Linked DNA regions of Homo sapiens: regions 1 and 2 are each linked to region 3. The links are contacts of gene promoters, found by promoter capture Hi-C in blood cells and fetal thymus (Javierre and others, 2016). All regions are on one chromosome and are shown on one strand. The core of a region is centred on a gene start or on the middle of the fragment in contact, and the rest is flanking DNA. Distances in the headings are between cores, read along the strand shown. Region 1 has its middle 37 kb from the start of CHST2. Region 2 holds the start of LOC105374137 (a long non-coding RNA gene). Region 3 holds the start of SLC9A9 (solute carrier family 9 member A9).

Region 1 (4,788 bases), core at 2,009-4,508, 690 kb before region 3:
GTCCACCACCAGGCCTGGCTAATTTTTTGTATTTTTTAGTAGAGACGGGGTTTCACCATGTTGGCTAGGCTGGTCTCGAATGCCTGACCTCAGGTGATCCACTCACCTTGGCCTCCCAAAGTGTTGGGATTACAGGTGTGAGCCACCGCACCCGACCACCCCCAACATTTTCTTATCTGTGCACACCAAGCTCAGTACAGCCCCACTCCTTTGAAGGCTGCCCCGGGGATGCCAGCTCACATTTCTCTACTTTTGTGTGTGCTGTGCTCTGCTGCACACTGTCCCACTCGCTACTGGATCTTAGCACTTGCTTGTAATAGAATGTAAAGCTATTATTTGATAATTATTTAACATATGTGTACATTTTGTCCCAATTTAGAATGTAAGGCCCTTATGTGAAAGGTACCATATCTCGTTTTCCCTTTGTAGTCTTAAATGTTTAAAACAAGAGAAAAGAAAGGATATTTATTAAATACCTGCCATGGATTAAGTGCTTTTTTAACCATGACCTTATTTAATATTCACAACAATCCTGGAAAGATATTTTCATATTTCAGAGATATTAAACAACTTTGCCCTGAGAAATCCCCAAAGCTGAAATTCAGAATTGACTCAGTCCAGTGCCATAGTGCTTCTTTAATGTGATGTCTGGCCAGTTGCCCTCTAGGACTTTATATACCAGAGTGGCAGAGGTGGTGGACACTTACTATGGGTAATTAACTAATGAAAAGTGAAAGTATGCCTTATTTGCCTAGAAAGATATTTCAGGACTCCCAATGTATTTACTCTGTATGCTTTTATTTTCCTTCAGATATTAAAAAACTTATTTTGAGATCATTTATGATTTACAGAGGAGTTACAAAAATAGTGCGGGGTTCCCATATACTCTTTACCAAGCTTCCTCTAGCATTAAAATCTTAAATAACTACAGTATAATTATGAAAACTAAGAGATGAACACTGGTATAATACTATTAACTAAACTATAGGCTTTATTAGAATTTTCCCAGTTTTTGTTTTTTTTACTAAGTGTCTATTTCTATTTCAAAATCCAATGCATCATACTCAGTCACTCTCACCACTTCTATTTAACACAGGACTGGAAGTCCTACAGCAATTAGGCAAGCTAGAACAACTAGGCAAGAAAAAGAAATGAAAGGCATTCAAATTGGAAAGGAAGAAGTAAAATTATCTCTGTTCACAGATGACGTAAACTTACAGGTAGAAAATTCTAAAGATTGCACAAGTAAACTGTTAAGTAATAAATGAATCGTGCAAACTTGCAGGTTACAAAATCACCACACCAAGAAAACAGCTGCATTTTTATAGACTAGCAATGAACGATCTGAAAGGACCGTTTACATTAACATCAAAGAGAATAAAATAGTAGGAATACACTTAACCAAGAGGGTAAAAGATTTGAACACTAAAAACTACAAAACATTGCTGAAAGAAATCAAAGAAGATGTAAATAAATGGAAAGATATCCCATGTTAATTAATTGGAAGACTTAATATTGTTAAGATGCCCATACTACCCAAAGTGATCTATGCATTCAAAACAATCCCTATCAAAATCTCAATGGCACTTTCTTTACAGAAATAAAAAAAATTCCAAAATTTATATAGAACCACAAAAGACCATGAGTAGCGAAGTCAATCTTGAAAAAGAACAATAAAGCTGGAGGTATCAGCTTTTGGAAATATTTCCTGATACTTTAAAATCAGGAAATACTCCTTATGCCACGCACAAAATTTTGAAATCATGAAATACTTCTTACACCCTGCACAAAAGTTAACTCAAAATGGATTGAAGACTTAAACATAAGAGCTAAAACTATAAAACTCTTAGAAGAAAACACACGAGAAAAGCTTAGTGACTGGATTTAGCAATGATTTCTTGGATATTATGCCAAAAAATAGATAAATTGGATTTCATCAAAATTAATTTTTTGTGCATCAAAGGATACTATCTAGAAGATAAAGGCAACCTACAAAATGGGAGAAAACTTTTGTAAATCATATACTGGTAAGAGATTAATATCCAGGATATTTAAAGAACTCCAAAAACTTAGTAAAAACCACCACAACAAAGCAGTTCAATTAAACATGAGCAAATGACTTGATACTGATATTTCTTCAAGGGAGATATACAAATGGCCAAGAAGTACATGAAAAAACACTCAACATCAGAAATCATTAGGGAAATGCAAATTGAAACCTCAATGAGGTACCACATCACGCCTCTTAGGATGGCTATTATCCTCAAAACAGAAAACAAGTGTTGGTGAGAATATGGAGAAATTAGAACCCTTGCGTATTGCCTTAGGGAGTATAAAATGGTGCAGTCACTGTGGAAGACAATATGGCAGTCCCTAAAAAAAGTGAAATGTAAAACTACCAGATGATCCAGCAATTCCACTTTTATGTATATACCCCAAAGAATCAAAAGCAGAGACTTGGTCAGACATTTGTACTGTAAAGTCCATAGCAACATTATTCACAATAGCCAAAAGGTGGTGGAAGAAGCTCAAATGCCTATTAATGGATGAATGGATAAACAAAATGTGGCATATGCATACAATGGAATATTATACAACCTTAAGGAATGAAGTTTTTATGCATGCTGCAACATGGATGAACCTTGAAAACATTATGCAAAGTGAAATAAGCCAGACACAAAAGGATAAATGTTACGTGATCCCACTTATATGAAGTATCTAGAATAGTCAAGTTCATAGAGGAATGAAAGTAGACTGGTGGTTACTAGGAGCTGGATGGAGGGGACAATGGGGAGTTATTGTTCAAAGGGCATGAACATTTCAGTTCAGAAGGATAGAAAAATTCTGGAGGTAGATGGTGATGGTTGCATAACGATGTGAATGTACTTAATATCATTGCATTGTACACCTAAAAAGGATTAAGATGGTAAGTTTTATGTTATGTATATTTTGCCAGAATAAAATAAAATAGCCATAAGTTCACACTGCTATCTCTGGCTCCAATCCAGCCCCACAGGGTTTATTCTAGCCATCTCCCTTTCTTTATTGATAACTTCTTTCTCTAACAGAAAGAAACTTGGTTTTCATTATCTATAATATGTTTACTTATAATGTTCAACACTAGCACACAAAGTAGTTTCAGAATTGCTAACTTAGCACGCTTGTGAGAAACAAATTTACCAACTAGAGTACAGTATTTATGTACATTCTTTTTGTCTTTAGCCTTATAGTGTCCAGTCAAGATACTGTTTTCCAAAGTGACTTAGTTCAGATCCTTTCTTCCTCACCTTCTTCAATGTAGTTATGTCATTCATTTGTAATTCAGTTAAGTTCATTTGTCACAGTGCTTACTGGACAGCCAATGAGGTCATGCATTTGGAGTGCCTAATGCACTACCTGGCATGGAGAAGGGCCTTAAGAAATATGAGCTGAACCTGAATTTGTGGCACTGATTAGTGCTGTCCATCAACCTCATTACTTTGGCTCCATGAAATGTCAAAAGAGCTTTGACCAGGTTTCAAGTGTCTGTGACTCAGAACTAAGGTAACTGGCCCACAAGAATCAAGTCAGAAGTGCTGCCCTCATTAGCATCATGTTCTAGACAGCTGAGCCACTTATCATAGGACAACAAATCTGGGGGTTTAAATGGTGAATAACAGTGAAAGATGTGAATCATGCAAGGGACAGAAGATTTCAGGGGTGTAGAACTGTGCAGAAACCCAATGCAATCAGAGCTGATTCCCTCATGTCCTTGTCTCCTGAAATAGCCCACAGTTCTCCACACATTAGCTCTTCCACATTAGTCACCTCTTGATTTCTGTAGTGGATTCTGATGCAGTTCACCAGTGCCAAATGATGCATCTCCCTGGTCACTTGAAATTCAGTTAGGATTTTTTTTGGTTGCAGGCAACAGGAACCAATCCTAGCTAACGTAAGAGAAAAAGAAATGTGCTGGAGGCTATGAGGCAGCTCACAGAATTAAAGGAGCAGCTGTTGGATCTTGTTTCGGGACAACAGTGACTGGGGAAACCCCAGGAAGCACAGTAACAGGAACCAGCCATCACTGTGTCCAGGGCATGGCTGCTAGGATGAGTCAAGTCCAGAAACTTCTTTATGTGTCTCTCCCCTCAAGATTCAATTCTTGAGGGTTTCCCTTGGCCATAGCCTGGGTCACATGCTCATCTTTGGTGGGAAGGCAGAACACCTTGAATAGAGAGTCCCCAGTGGGAGCAGGTGGTAAACCCCAAACAGCAGATGTTCACTACATTCTATGAGGTACTCATCTTCCTCCCATTTAATGTGAGAAATAAGTTAATTTATCAATAAAACAACAAAACAATAGACTCCCCTTTTCCATGTTTCCTACAAGTATTCCAATCCTCACTGCCAGGGCTGTTATGAGCAGGTGGGGTTGGCTTTGCTGTTGTCTGAGTGGTGTTCTGGGCCATCCTTCAGGGCAGTACAAAACCTATGGTCAGGACAGGTCCCTCAGACATTTATCCCAGCTCTTTTCAACCAGCCCTCTGCTATAGGGCTTGGGTGTTGGTTTGAAGCACTAGGATTTTCCCAATTTCACATTTTATGAAAACCTCAAATAACATCCAACTAGAAATTAGGTTGGGTATGAGAGTCAGTTTAATCTAATACCAAGCTTAAGAGCATAAGCTTTGTAAGTAGAATGACTGGAGTTCAAATCCTGATGTGACCACACACTGGCTATATATTCTTTGATGTTATTTAACTTCTTTAAGGCTCAGTTGCCTAATCTGTAAAATATGGAGAGGGTCT
Region 2 (4,325 bases), core at 802-3,301, 710 kb before region 3:
CAATTTAGTGCTCTTTCTACTCAGCCAGTGGTTCTCAGCTGGGTGTGGGACGGTCCCTGCAATCTGGTTGGGGGAAAGATTGGGAGACAGCCTTTGGAATTTTTTTTTTTCCATGACTAGGGAATGGGACTGGCATTTAGTGGGCTGGAAGCAATAATGCTGAATGTTCTGCCTTGCTGAGGACAGTCCCACATAATGAATTGTCCTGCTCCAAATGTTAATAGTGGTCCCCTTGAGAAATACCGAGCTAAATTAAGCCAAAGAAAATTACACACTGACTCAGAACTGAGAATAAGGCTGTCTCATAATGATACTCAATAAATGTTAATAAATGATATCACCAAGGTTGTCATCAGAATCATCATTGCTATTTTGGACATTTGTGGCTATAATGAATTTAAAGGTTGCATGATTTTTTTTCTAGCTACATTCTGCTGCTTTTATTCAGGTGTGGAGAAGATGGATAGTTGGATGATGGGTAATGGATGGGGAAAAAGTAGGAGAAATATTGGACTGGAACTCTATGAGATCAGATATTTGAAATATATATATGGTTATGGTATGATAGAATGCAGAAATGTAGTGGGTAAGAATTCTTGAAACCTACATTTCTGGGGTGGTGAGGTTGTCACTGATCAACAACAAGAGTAGCTATGTTGAATCAGAGCACGAAGATGATAAGAAGCTGAAAGGCCAGGATGTCAAATGGGTTCCTAAAATGGATATTGAAATCATGAGTAATGGTAGAAAGGGTCATGGCGGAGAGGAAGTCATTGATCTGGGCACTCAACTCTTGCAGTTGTGCTTGCTTTTGAAGATGGCACTGTCCTCTCCTACAACTCATTTGGTCTTGTCTTGTTCCAATGCATAAACCAGCTCATTATTCCATCTGTTTGTTCAATGCCTGTGGAAGCTTCTATTCTAGCCCACACCAATGTCTCCTTTCTCTTTGCACAAATTAGCACTCAGCTGCACAGTCTTTTATATTGGCCTCAAATTATTAGATGTGTGTCAGTCTGGTCAATATGGCAATTTAATCACCTTGGGAGCAATTAAACCACACTTTTCATTTCTTATCTCCTGCACAGGAAGTAGTGAATGAACTATTTCTGAAGTGACTGATTTGCACCATGGTAGAGGTAGGGGTGGAGGAGGGTTGACTTAAAAGCCCCCAAGAAACCAATCAGCAGTCCTTTCCAGACTGGCACTGTGTGCACTTTGCCATTTTGCCCTGTATCTGGGGACACACACACACACACACACACACACACACACACATTGATAGTGTTTATCAGGTACCGGTGTCTTTCTCCATGCCCTCATTGCCCCCTGCTCATGCTTCTAAAACACCTCTTAGCACTGACTGTGGGACAGTGGCTGCCCAGCATCCAAGCCCTGATTTTCTTTTGGAAATCTGTCTCCTGCTTCTTTGGTGCATGTGGTTGTGTTGGATCTAACTTCACACACAACTCTAGCATTTGCCATGCTGACTTTCCCAAGACCAAAATGATCGGCTAAGGACTGAGCACATGACCCAATTAGAGCCAATGAGATATCTTGATATTTTTGCTCAGATTTCGGGGTTAGGCAGGCATTCTTATTTAAAGAGGAGAAGACATAAGGACTGGTATCCATGGTGCCTCTAGAAGACAGTCAAATTGTGGAGAGCAGAGCCAAAAGATACGGAGAGAGAAACCACAGACTGGTGGACAAAGGGAAGCTAGGTTCTGGTGAAGTCATTTTAGCCCTGCTAAAATGGGTCTGAAGTCAGCCTTACCCTTGGTTTGCAATTAGAGGAGCCAGTTACATTTCCTTTTTGTTTGAGCCACTGTAGATTGGATGTTTTCTTCCTTATAGTGCAAAGAATCTCAACAAGTGCAGAATTTACCCAGTGTGTTATAAGCTGTTTCTCCTATTACAGGACAAGCTCCTGTAAGGCAGGGCTCTTGTCTTATCTGTGTGCTTCCAGCAGAAGGCACAGTGTCTGGCACGCGGGATGCCTCCAAACCATGTTTATTTTACTGTGTATGGAATGGTCTCACTTTACAGCATTGCTCTTCAAAGTCGGGTCCTTGGACCAGCAGTATCAGCCCCTCTCTAGACTGCCAGATCATAATCTGCATTTATTTATTTATTTATTTTTAGAGATGGGGTCTCTGTCACCTAGGCTGGAGTTCAGTGGCACGATCATAGCTCACTGTAGCCTCGAACCCTTGGGCTCAAGCGATCCTCCCATCTACATTTTAATAAGATCCTCAGGTGATTCCTGTGCTTTTGGGAAGGATTGCTCTACAGACTTATAGTCAATTGCATTTTGCAAACATCTGGCCTGGAGTGGTTGTGCTGGCCTAAAGAGTACCACCTCAGTTCAGTAATTCTGGCTGCATTTCAAGACTCTACCAGTAGGTATCTTGTCCACAGGATTCCATAAATTTACAGATAAGATGCTCAGAAAGCCAGGTGTGGCATCTGCAGTAGTCCAGTCCCACAGAGTGAGGGAGGTGAAAGACCCCCACAGCTTCACCATGGTTGCCTGGATCCCTTCCTGGCACCATGTCCTGGCAGCCTGCCAAAGGACTGAGCATTTGTTTACCTATGAATATGTTAACAACCCACTAGATTCTTGGTTTTGGGAGCCTGGAGAAGGCTAAGTGAAACCTGAATTCTGTCACAGTCTAGGGAATAATACATGTTAAAATGAATTCTGGGCTTCCATCCTGCAGCATTTTAGCCATGTGGCTGGGTCCAGGATTCGATTCTTAGAGTCTTTTCAAGCATATGATATTAGGAGGGATGAAGGCAAACAAGCGTTGTATAAATCACATAAAAAGACTAAGATTTCCATTTCTGAGCTTGTTTTTGGGTGATGAGAAAGTTTGGTTTGTCAGACACCCTACAAATTACATTATGTATAAATGACAATGTAAATCTATTCATTTCTTTTCTGATTTCCACTTATCCCCTTTAGTAAGAATATATTTCTTACCCTAAGAGTTTTACACCCAGCTATAACACATTCATTTTGAGTGAATTTAGAAAAACAGAGTCTCATCTAAGGAACATACATGCATGTTACCATACATATGCATATTAACATAAATGATTTGCACAACTTTTAATAATGTGAGACAGAAAGAATGAGTCACTTCTTTTCTGTAACTTAAGAATTTGCTTAAAAATGCATATTAGGAAGCTTCAAGCTGGGGGCAGGAGAGGAACACATTCATATTCCTTGTAGCTGCGGTTTGCTCTCCTGGAAGTGGGAGTGATGACTAATAACATTGTCTCTATGGGGATGTGGTCCTGGCATTGCCATTGGCAGTTGCCCTTCCGGGCTTTTCAAACCATCTGCAATAACTTCTGTCTTCTGGTCATTACTTCTTCCAGTCCCCATTCTACAGACTGTGGGTCAGTTCTCTAACTTACAGTAATGTTATGATTCCCATTCTCCCCCCAAAATATCAGAGGACTTCCAGGAGGTCTTAATTGCTTATAGATGGTTACCTCACCACTCTGATGAAAATATTCTGGTTGTGGTAACTTGCATTTTAATATCCAACATCTTACTTTTTCTTTGTTTCTTTGTGGCAGGTTAAGTACTTTCATTTATATAATTTTTGACAGCCAGCATGGTCTATAACTCCAGTAAATGGCAGAGAACAGAGCTACTACATACTAAACAGAACACATTGTGAAACACACTAGACTTGGGGTATCCTGGAGGAGCACGCATTGGGCAAGAGTAATTTCCACAGTTGGCCACCCTGGCTCTCACCACTGAGTGTGGGGAAAAATCCACAGACCATGGCAATAGATGGTTAGCTATCCATTATATCTAGCTCTCTAGATACACACACAGTCATGTGTGCACAAACATGCATGTGTATGTGTATTTGTAAGGAGGCTGTCTCATAGACAAATAGCATTTTAACATATCAGAGCTGTGCAAGGTGAGGCTAAACAGGGGTCGAGTGCACTTAATGGCCAGCTGATGCAGGTGAATGCATTTTGCTCAGGGAGAAGTACCAGCCCTTTTAGATTAGCTAAGATGATGGTTTGTTCACTTTTTTTTTTTTTTGAGATGGAGTCTCGCTCTTGTCACCCACGCTGAACTGCAATGAAGCAATCTTGGCTCACTGCATCCTCCGCCTCCTAGGTTCAAGCGATTCTCCTGCCTCAGCCTCCTGAGTAGCTGAGATTACAGGTGCCTGCCACCAGGCCTGGCTAATTTTGTATTTTTAGTAGAGACGGGGTTTCACCATGTTGGCCAGGCTGGTCTCGAACTCCCAACCTCAAGTGAACCGTCTGCCTCGGCCTCCCAAAGT
Region 3 (4,325 bases), core at 899-3,398:
CTTTAATATGATATCAAGAATTACATTGTTTCTGGCTTCTCAGATTCTATTCCATATCCTTGCAGATTACTTATTAGTCAAGTCAAGAGAAAAATTCTGTTCATGATGGAGATAGGCAAATGACAGGAACCTAGGGCTTCACATCTGATGGCATCCCCTCCTTTTTGTTTGGCTATTTCTCTCCCACCTGATTGTGATTTTTTTTTTCTCTTAAATGAGAGTTTTCTTGTGCCCGTTAAGACCCTCAATACTGGCTGGGAATGGTGGCTCATGCCCGTAATGCCAGCATTTTGGGAGGCCAAGGTCAGTGGATCTCTTTAGGCCAGGAGTTGGAGACCAGCCTGGGCAACATAGTGAGACCCTGTCTCCACTAAATTTTAAAAAATAAATAAAACAATACAGCAAAAAAAGGTTTTTTTTTTTTTTGCATTTGGGTTATGTTTTTTTTCTTTTTTTAATTATACTTTAAGTTTTAGGGTACATGTGCACAACGTGCAGGTTAGTTACATATGTATACATGTGCCATGTTGGTGTGCTGCACCCATTAACTCGTCATTTAACATCAGGTATATCTCCTAATGCTGTCCCTCCCCACTCCCAAGCAAAAAATTTTTAAAAGACCCTCAGTACCAAGGAATTTAACTCTGTGCTCTGAATGGATCAGCATATCAGCCTCCTGAGCCTGAAACTTCCGCCTTATAGCTCAAGTATCTCACAGTGGGATCCACTTAAGGCTTAGGATTCCTTAGGTTCTGAAATCACAACTATACACTGTTAATATCAGGACACCACAGGATTAGCATATACAATGTGCATTGATCTGTACCCTGAATCTCAGGCTTAGGAAAGGGTTTCAGGATTTCCAAAATGAGGAAACCCCAAATATAAAAGTATGTTATTTGCTATAAATTATAGCAATGCCTTGCCTGTTGCCATTGTGTTCAAACTTCCTATCCATTATCAGGCTGAGATAAGAGCAGTGAAGTAAACTATTTCATCAGTAACACCAGTAAAAACTGGTGTCTTTCATTTTACTTTAAAAGATGAGAGTACAGACAGATAATCTCTGTCAGACTTTATTAAACTTTCTGAAAGGAATGATACGGTAAGTTGCCCAGAAAGAGCAATACTGCAGGTGTTAAATATTTTTCCACACCTTGGCCTCCAATACATAAATAGGAGATACATAACAAATAACACTAGCAATGATCATTATAAATTAGAACATCTGAAATCAGGCTAAGAAGTAAAAAGTACTGCATAAAGAAACTCTCGTTTATTTATAACTTTTTATTATAAGAAAATAAGACACTGTTCGTATAAATAAAAAGGACTTGGACACAATATTCTCTTAAGAGGGGTGGGGTTAGTTTCTGCAAGTTTTCTTCTTGAAATTAGTTGATATAAGAGGAATTACTCCAGGCATTTTGAAGTGATGTTTTTTCTAGAACTTCGTAATGTTCATCGGTGCAGCCAGTGAGAGAAGGCTGCTCTTTGTGACTGCAGAGCCATCACTTCCCAACATCATTACAAAAACAAACAGCTCGCCCTCGACTCCCCACATGACAATGGACCCGCATCTGTCAACAGACTTGCATTATGTGCCGTGTGAGAACATGACTGTGACATTTGCTCTCGTGACATGGCAAATTTCGGCGGCTTGTCTGTAAAGAGATTAGCATTCGTTACGCTGCAGCACCTTTCATCAAACTAATGACATTTCAATCAGCACATTTTCTCCAGTTTCGGTACTTTGCTATCTGAGCACAAGTCTCTAATTACGCTCAAGCAACAAGTTTCACATCAATCTCACAATTTATGCACTCACCATACACCATTGCTCCTCCAGTTTCATGCAAGAAGCGGAATCGATGATTTTTAAATAACCAGATTGTCAAAATGGTAAGGATGAGCAAAAAATTGAAGACAAGCAGCTCCACCGCTCCCTGATGTTGAAACTGATACTCATCCTTTTCTGACATAACCCTTGACTGTCTCTCCATTCCCCAGTCTTCTTGGGATTCCTTAGATAAAAACCTGGATAAAGGCTATTTTATCAAGATTTGCCTAAGACAGTCTGACTGCCTGAGAATTTCAGAAGAAACACTGCCACTTTAGTTGCTACTTCACAAGCATTCTGCCCTGGCTTAGTATTCAGATGGCTTCTAGTTACAACTTCCTGTTTCTCTCTTAAAGCAGCCCTGTCTCTTTTCAAACTCGAGAGTGTGTGGTTTCATCACTGACTCTTAATGTCTTTAAGTGATTCATCTCATGAAAATATCTTTCATACTGGACAAATCTGCAAGCAATGATGCTAAGATCTTGAATCACGGTCTTATTATTCCAAATAAGTCTTCTTAAGCTGCATAAATATGAACTGTAGATTAATAATAAAAAAGGTAGCCTTACACTAGCAACGTTTTCTAAGTTCAAAAAGCCAATTCCTGACTCAACTTCACCTAAATGCAAGATCTTTCCTCTCTAACCAAGACCTGCCAAAGTGATGGGGATTGATAGCACAGTTATCAATCAGCCTCTGTGCTCTAAATGGATCAGCATATTAGCCTCCTGAAAAGATATTACACTGCTTAGCCTGAAACTTCCGCCTCATAGCTCAAGTATCTCACAATGGGATTCACTTAAGGCATAGGGTTTCTTATAGGGTTTCTTATGCTCTCAAATCATGACTGTACATTGGTTAAGCAAACCTAAAGTGATTTCACAGGATTTTTTTTTTTTTTTTTTAGTTGAGAAGCAAGAAAGGATTTAGTATATGACTCTATTTGGCTTTATATAATTGATAGTTGCAGAGCAGCCTTTAAACTCTAAATCAATTGTTTTTCTTTTAACAAGAGAAAACAATGAAAGCAAAAGACAAATAAAATTCCATCCCCATCTCTACAACTGTACTGTTTGGATACGTTGAGACAAAAAAGAAAAAAAACAAAACACATTACTTCGAAAGAGAAACTCACGCAGCCATCCTCAGCAACGCCACATGCATGGATTTCTCTTTGTAGGGTTCCTGGTCTCGGCATCCAGGACCCACAGAAATCTGCAATAGATCACAACCTCCTCTGTCCTATGGCAAAACAATGTTGCTCACTGAGAAATGGTTCTGCCACCAGAAATGAAAGCTCTGTATTCACAGGATTCTGATCATAAGAGTGATGATTCTTCAGATCATCTTCCATGTGGCAGGTTGCTCCTGTCTGATTTCATATTTTTCTACTTTAAAATAGTTCAAGATAATACCATGGGTTCTGCAGCTTTTTTTTCCTTTTCTTTCTTTTTTCTTAGCAAATATTATGACCTGCTTGCTTTTAACACTTGATCCTATAACACATTTGGGTATATCCTGGGGTTAGCTGATTTTTTTTTTCATTTTACCATATCATTGTAATTTGGGAGTATTAATCACTTATGATCCCCATTTTGACACAATTAATGCTCAATTTATACAATGTGATTTCTTATTGAGTAGGCTGAGCCCAAATGCGTCCTGAAACAATTTTTGTCACTAAAAGCTAAAGGTCAAGCATGTAATATTATTGGGAGCTAACTACCTCCTCAACAAACAGTTTCACCATGAGAGCAAGTCTATCAACCCCTTAATACAAAGCTCTGCTGTTTCAGCATCTTTGCTTTGTGCAACTTTGGAAGCTTATTTCCTCTCTGAGTTTAACTTAGCAGAGGGTATTTATGTGTGCTGCAGATGTTCTTCTGACACGCTACCCTTTTTGGCAGGAATATCTGTGATGACTAATATTCATACTGTTTTGAAACCTATCAGCTAATGCTTGCAAGCATTTCATGGAGCTTTGCTAGCAGGTTCTACCTTTATGATTTTGCAACTCCACAGGTTCAGTCGAGTTGTCAGATATACAAGATAACACAAATTCAGAAACTTCCTGTCCTTTTGTTTTTTGTCATTATTGAATTACTTTGGTTTTCTTTTATCACAATTATTCCATCTGAGTAGAATAAACATTCTCTGGTTGATCCGTGACATCCAGTTTCACTCTTTTAACCAATGAAGCAACTTGACAAAAGATTAATGGCCCATAGAATGTTTTGATTGGCTTACACGTCTTTTTAAAAAGTTTTAGGTTTGATGTCAACACATTCAAATCAGTATATTTAACATTTAAAAAATCATATGGCTTTTTGCAAGAAAAACTTGTAAGATCTGGCACACTGGGCCCTTCTTACATGGCCACAATCTGTTGGGGCTGAGTGGTTGCCTGCTGCATTTGCAACCAGCTTGCCACAAGTCCATTCATCCCTCTTCTTTCATTCATGGTCCCCGTGTGGCCCCTGCAGAT

What was found. Contacts are between HindIII fragments. The CHiCAGO score rates a contact against its expected background, and 5 or more counts as called.
Region 1: a contact is called between a fragment that was not itself captured here and the fragment with the promoter of SLC9A9 in region 3, in 1 of 17 cell types (M1 macrophages). The highest score is 5.7, in M1 macrophages.
Region 2: a contact is called between a fragment that was not itself captured here and the fragment with the promoter of SLC9A9 in region 3, in 1 of 17 cell types (M1 macrophages). The highest score is 5.9, in M1 macrophages.

What each region holds. Positions count from the first base shown.
Region 1 is chr3:143,154,720-143,159,507 of GRCh38, forward strand. No RefSeq gene overlaps it. Among named protein-coding and RNA genes, the nearest start is that of CHST2, 37 kb to the left of the region's middle. The HindIII fragment of the contact is 2,781 bases long and covers 1,869-4,649 here.
Region 2 is chr3:143,132,104-143,136,428 of GRCh38, forward strand. It overlaps LOC105374137 (a long non-coding RNA gene), which reads right to left and starts at 695. Exons shown (of 3, transcript XR_924554.3): 1 at 608-695. The HindIII fragment of the contact is 2,280 bases long and covers 912-3,191 here.
Region 3 is chr3:143,846,320-143,850,644 of GRCh38, forward strand. SLC9A9 (solute carrier family 9 member A9) reads right to left here and starts at 2,149. Exons shown (of 16, transcript NM_173653.4): 1 at 1,829-2,149. The coding sequence starts at 2,003. The HindIII fragment of the contact is 4,941 bases long and covers 1-3,661 here.